Linked DNA regions of Homo sapiens: region 1 is linked to region 2. Evidence: promoter capture Hi-C in 16 types of primary human blood cells and fetal thymus (Javierre and others, 2016). All regions are on one chromosome and are shown on one strand. The core of a region is centred on a gene start or on the middle of the fragment in contact, and the rest is flanking DNA. Distances in the headings are between cores, read along the strand shown.

Region 1 (3,057 bases), core at 151-2,650, 800 kb before region 2:
ATTTTCTGATTCCTCCTTGAATTCATTCTTGCGATGGTGTTAAGAGCCTGGACACCAGCTGGGGTCGAGGCCCCACCAGCGTCTGGGGAGACCCCTCCTAGCCCAACAGTATCAGGGTCACAAAAATGCCAGGCTTCCTGGCCTCGCATATTTTATGCCCGATTTCTTTCCAATCTGACTTATTTGCCCGCCCCCCTCCTCCACCTCTGCCTACATATATCCGAATCCCTAGAGGGGCTGTGGGGAGGAAAGACGACTAGGGACACTTTTTTTTTTTTTTTTTTTTTGAGACAAGGTTTGCTCCTGTTGCCCAGGCTGGAGTGCAATGGCACGATCTCTGCTCACTGCAACCTCTGCCTCCCGGGTTCAAGCGATTCTCCTGTCTCAGCCTCCCGAGTAGCTGGGATTCCAGGCATGCACCACCACGCCCGGCTAATTTTTGTATGTTTTAGTAGAGGTGGGGTTTTGCCATGTTGGCCAGGCTGGTCTTGAACTCCTGACCTCAGATGATCCACCCTCCTCAGCCTCCCAAATTGCTGGAATTACAGGCGTGAGCCACCGCGCCCGGCCTAGGGAGACTTTTGGAGGAGTGAGAGGCAGAGAAAGGCTGGAAAGCCTCCCGAAAGTGAGGCTAGACAAGGACGCCCTTCATATGCAAATGGCTTCGCGTGGAGGCGGTGTTAATATTTTGATTCTCTCGGGGGATGTGGTCTTTCATCTTGGGCTATTGAAACAGGGAGCGAAGAGAAACTCTTCCAGGTGTGGCGGAGGCGGGGAGGCTTCCAGCGGGAGGACTGGTGGGGAAATGGGGCGCCCGGGGAGAGTGAAAACGAGACGCCCCTTTTTGAGGCCAAGCCCACCCACGTGGCCATTTCCATTGGCCTCTTGCCTGATTCTCGGTCTCCTGTCCCCCCAACCTCAATTTTTTCCTCTTATTCCCCGTCTCCATCTATGCCTCACCCCTCTTGTCCTGGCATTGACCCCTCCTCCAACTTCCAATTTCAGATTCTGCCTCAGTTTCCCTGTTGACTCTTGAGTTTTTAGGGAGGGGGCGTTCATCATTTCCCCTCTCTGCTACCAGGCCTTCCTCCTATTCCTCTCCCCCAACCATTCGTCCCCGTCCCACCTGCAACGTGGGAAATGCCCCCGGAGGGTGAAATTTACAAACACGTGACGGGCACCCCTCCCCCACCTCCGCGACCCGCTCCCGGAATGGCCTGGGGGTTGGGGGGCGCTGCCAAGTCCTGTCCTCAGGTCCCCTCGCCGGCGCTGGCTCCCCCACTTCCCCGCCCCCACCCCCCCACCCGACCCTGCTCGAGCTGCTCCCGAAGAGGAGCTGGGGGCGGGGCGGGGGGCGGAGCCCGCAACAAAGACTCGGAGCGAGCGAGGGGGCGGGGGTGGGGCGGAATCCCGGCCGCCGGCGAGGCGGGGGAGGCGGCGGCGCAGGGTCGCCCCGGCCGGGCGGGCGGGGTCGCGCCTGGTGGCGGTCCCCGCGCCGAGGCGCCGCTAGGGCGGGCGGGGGTCGGGACGCCGGGCTAGGGGCGCGTCATGTGGCCGCTCACGGTCCCGCCGCCGCTGCTGCTGCTGCTGTGCTCAGGCCTGGCCGGACAGGTAGGGGCCCGGCGGGCAGGTGCGGGCGCGGGTGGCTCCGGGAGAGGAGGGGGGCGCGGAGGGTTCCCGGAGAAACGGGGTTGGGAGGCTCCACAAGCCCCCCCAGCTGCAGGGCGGCGAGGGGCGGGGGTCGCAGCGGGGGAGGGGCCGGGACGTGCACTCTCTGGCTTGGGAGAGGACGAGGGGGGCTTCAAATCCAGCCTCAAGCTGGGCTGGTTTGGGGGGTGGCGTCTTTGGGGTTCTCAACCCCTCCATGGCCCCGAGCCCCCACCCCGCCATCTCGCTGGAGCTGAATGGGGTTGGGAGGGAAACTTCAGGGGGCATTGGAGGGGGGCGGTTGCTTACCCTTGACTTCCTCTTCGGGGCCGAGATGCCCAGTTTCTGAAGCCCTCCACTCCTCGCCTGCAGCCCCCAGTGTGGGGCAGGGGACGGGACTCACGTGAGAGTGACTGACGGGGACGCGTGTGAAATGCTGTGGGGGTGCAGGGTAAACGTGTGTGTCTTTGTGTCGTGGTTGGGTGTGACCGGGGGGAGTTTGTGTGTGTGGCGGTTGGGGGGCTTGTCCAACTAGTGCCCGAGTTGGGGTGTGATCAGTACGTGAGACAGAGTCTGTGTGTGACCGTGTCCTCATTACTGGCTCCAGATGACTGGGTGTTGTACAATACGTGTGTGGCCAGGTGTGTGGCCGTGTGAGAGCCTTGGAGTGAGCGTGTGCTATTCTGTACCTTTGGGTAAATCACTCTAAAAGGGTGTGTGTGTGTGCAAGCGCTGTGTGTGCAAACGTGTCCATCCATGCACGTGTGTGTGTGTATCTTGGTGCCTTGCTCACAACCGCACACGCCATTCATACCCTTACAGAAGCGGGTCTCCCTCCCCATGGCACCTTTCTCTTGGGCAGGCTCAGGGAGGCTTGCAAAATGTGGGGCGTCCACGCTCTCTTTTGCTATTGGAAAGCCCCTCTCCTCCTCCATCTTGGGAGTGAGAGCACCCCCAAGTTCTCAGATCTGTAGGAGTTCACAGGGAAGCTGGGATCAAAAATAATAAAATAGTCATTATGATAACAGTGATCATTCATTACGTGCTAATTTGAGAGGTGCTGTTTCAATCACACAGCACAGACTAAGGCATTTAACCCCCTCTGCCTCCTCCCTACTAGAGCATGGTATTGTTACCTCATTTTATGGATGGGGAAACTGAGGCGCAGAAAAGTTAAATCACTTGCTCAAGCTCGAGAGTGACAGAGGTGGGACTGAACCGAGGCAGTCCGGCTCCTGAGCCCACACGATTACCCTCTTGTTAAATAATCCGCTCCATGGGTGTGGACAGCGTCCGTGAAGACATTGCTAGGTGGGCTTTTAGGTAGATAGGCAGGGGAGAAACAATTTGGGCACCTTCCCCTTATCAAGAAAAGAATCAGACCCTTGTGCTCACCCCGAGGGGGGTGTT
Region 2 (3,126 bases), core at 203-2,702:
TCACTTGAAGTCAGGAGTTTGAGACCAGCATGGCCAACATGGTGAAACCTCGTCTCTACTGAAAATATAAAAATTTGCCAGGTGTCGTGTGTGCCTGTAATCCTAGCTACTCTACTCAGGAGGCTGAGGCAGGAGAATCGCTTGAACCTGGGAGGCGGAGGTTGCAGTGAGCTGAGATCACGCCACTGCACTCCAGCCAGGGCGCAGAGTGAGACTTGGTTTGAAAAAAAAAAAAAAAAAAAAAAGCAATTTCTGACTCAGAGAAAGCTGGGATTCTGTCTAAGGAGGATTCCACCAGCTCCCTAGGGGTCCGATCCTAGGATCCAAGAATGAGATACCCTCGGGATAAGAGGAAATGTGGTTGGAAGAGAATGACATACAGCTTGTCCCTTGGGGTCAGAAAGTCAACCATCCAGGAATTCCCCCTTTGTGCTCACGTCTGACCTGTGCTCATTAAGGATTTGAGCTGCCTTAGGGGAAGAAATGACAGTACTGTACACATCTAGCTAATGAGCAGCTTTGAAAATTGAGCTCCTAGGGGCCACAGAGACTGCAAATAATCTACCGGTGACCACTCCACTCAACAGCCCCGCTCATGTTAGGAAACATCACACCTGAGTCTTGCTCCAGAGATGATCCCTCTTGCCCAAGAGTGGGTTGCCTTACTTGGTTCATCTGCCCTTCTTGGGGATAGATCTTCCATTTCATCTTACAATTCTCCAAGAAAAAAAATGGAGAATTCCTTACTGATGCCTTCAAGGTAATCTGAAATGCTCCCAATAAATGCTGTGAGAAACTGAACAAGTTTTTTATTTTATTTTTTCTCCCATCTTATCTGGAGGACAACCATAAAGTAAGAGACAATTCAGCAGAATTGTTATAAGTGAGATTCCAAACTAATCGGTGACCCTTTTCATGATATATTTACTTCCCCTGTTTTCTTACAATTTATAATCAGATTTCATTATTTTCAGCTCTCATTCTGTCTTCTAAATCCTAGGGACTCCTTCCCTACCTAAGTATGAATTAGTCCCTTCAAAAAGGAATCTGGCCAAGTGCGGTGGCTCACGCATGTAGTCCCAGCACTTTGGGAACCAAGGCGGATCAATCACCTGAGGTCAGGAGTTCAAGACCAGCCTGGCCAACATGGTGAAACCCCATCTCTACTAAAAATACAAAAATTTAGCCGGGCATGGTGGCATGCACCTGTAATCCCAGCTACTCAGGAGGCTGAGGCAGGAGAATCGCTTGAACCCGGGAGGCAGAGGTTGCAGTGAGCTGAGATGGCACCACTGCATTCCAGCCTGGTGACAGAGCAAGACTCTGTCTCATAAAACAAACAAATAAACAAAAGGAATCTACAGTTCTCTGGTTTTCCACATTCTTTTTTTTATTTTTTGAGAAGGAGTCTCGCTCTGTCACCAGGCTGGAGTGCAGTGGCTCCATCTCAGTTCACTGCAACCTCCGCCTCCTGGGTTCCAGCGATTCTCCTGCCTCAGCCTTTTGAGTAGCTGGGATTACAGGCGCCCACCACCATGCCTGGCTAACTTTTGTATTTTTAGTAGAGATGGGGTTTCACCAAGTTGGCCAGGATGGTCTTGATCTCTTGACCTCGTGATCCGCCCACTTTGGCCTCCCAAAGTGCTGGAATTACAGACATGAGCCACCATGCCTGGCCCCATGGTTTTCCTCATTCTTTTGACTGCAGATGGGGCTTTGATGAGATGTGTCTGGCTTTTCAATCTTCACCATGTCTGTTGCCAGATTTCACCCTTAAATAACTTGACTCTTGTCCCCATCTCTTGACAGTGAGAAACTCCAGAAGAGGAAGTTGAGACCCACTCACTTACATTTCCAGTCTTTCGGTTTCTCTTTTAAAACCCCAAAACAGGCCAGATGTGGTGGTTCATGCCTGTAATCCTAGCACTTTGGGCTTACAGGCATGGGCAACATAGCAACATAGCCTGGGCAACATAGCAAGAGCTCATCTCTGCAAAAAAAAAAAATTTTTTTTAATTTTAAAAATAGATTTAAAATACTAAATATAATAATAATAACAATAAAGTATAACACTTAAACATGAAGTCCTCTTGATTTGTTTTTATTCCTCTCCTTCCCTTCCTGGGGACCACCACTCTCTGAAATTGGTGGGCATTCACTATGCTTAGTTTAACACTATTATTACATGTAATAATAGTGCCATAATTTGTGTATCTATCCCCATACTGATGTTTGTTTAGCTTCTTTCTTTCTTACTTTATTTTGAGACAGGATCTCACTCTGTCACCCAGACTGGAGTACAGTGGCTCAATCACGGCTCACAACAACCTCGACCTCCTGAGCTCAGGTGATCCTCCTACCTCAGCCTCCTGAGTAGCTAGGACTATAGGTGCATGCCACCATGCCTGACTAGTTTTTGTATTTTTTGTAGAGATGGGGTTTCACCATGTTGCCCAGGCTGGTCTCTAACTCCTGGGCTGAAGTGATCTGCCTGCCTCTACCTCCCAAAATGCTAGGATTACAGGCGCGAGCCACTGCGCCTGGCTTTTTCTTTTTTCTTTTTCTTTTCTCTGAGACAGCATCTTGCTCTGTCACCCAGGCTAGATAGAGTACAGACACACAACCCAGGCTGGTCTCAAACTCCTGGGCTCAAGTGATCCTCCCACCTCGGCCTTCCAAAGTGCTGGGATTACAGGCTTGAGCCACTGTGTCAAGCCCAGTTCTTTCTTTTCTGTACCTTATTACACTAGGAGAACCCTCAGTGGGATTTTGAGCACATGCCTTCTTTGCTCAGCCCTAAGACATTCTTCTTCTTTTTTTTTTTTTTTTTTTTTTTGAGATGGAGTCTCACTCTATCACCCAAGCTGGAGTGAAGTGGCGTGATCTCAGCTCACTGCAACCTGCACCTCCCAGGTTCAAGCAATCCTCTTGCCTTAGTCTCCAAGTAGCTGGGATTACAGGCATGCATCACCACACCTGGCTAATTTTTAAATTTTTTTAGTAGAGACGGGGTTTCACCATGTCAGCCAGGCTGGTCTCAAACTCCTGACCTCAGGTCATCTGCCCGCCTCGGCCTCCCAAAGTGCTGGGATTACAGGTGTGAGCCACCGCACCCGGCCTGACATT

What was found. Contacts are between HindIII fragments. The CHiCAGO score rates a contact against its expected background, and 5 or more counts as called.
Region 1: a contact is called between the fragment with the promoter of OLFM2 here and a fragment that was not itself captured in region 2, in 1 of 17 cell types (erythroblasts). The highest score is 5.1, in erythroblasts.

Annotation. Positions count from the first base shown.
Region 1 is chr19:9,934,858-9,937,914 of GRCh38, reverse strand. It overlaps OLFM2 (olfactomedin 2), which reads left to right and starts at 1,400. Exons shown (of 6, transcript NM_058164.4): 1 at 1,400-1,611. The coding sequence starts at 1,549. RefSeq lists enhancers at 381-883, 1,550-2,144. The HindIII fragment of the contact is 5,720 bases long and covers 1-3,057 here.
Region 2 is chr19:9,129,900-9,133,025 of GRCh38, reverse strand. No RefSeq gene overlaps it. Among named protein-coding and RNA genes, the nearest start is that of OR7G3, 4.5 kb to the right of the region's middle. The HindIII fragment of the contact is 4,665 bases long and covers 1-3,126 here.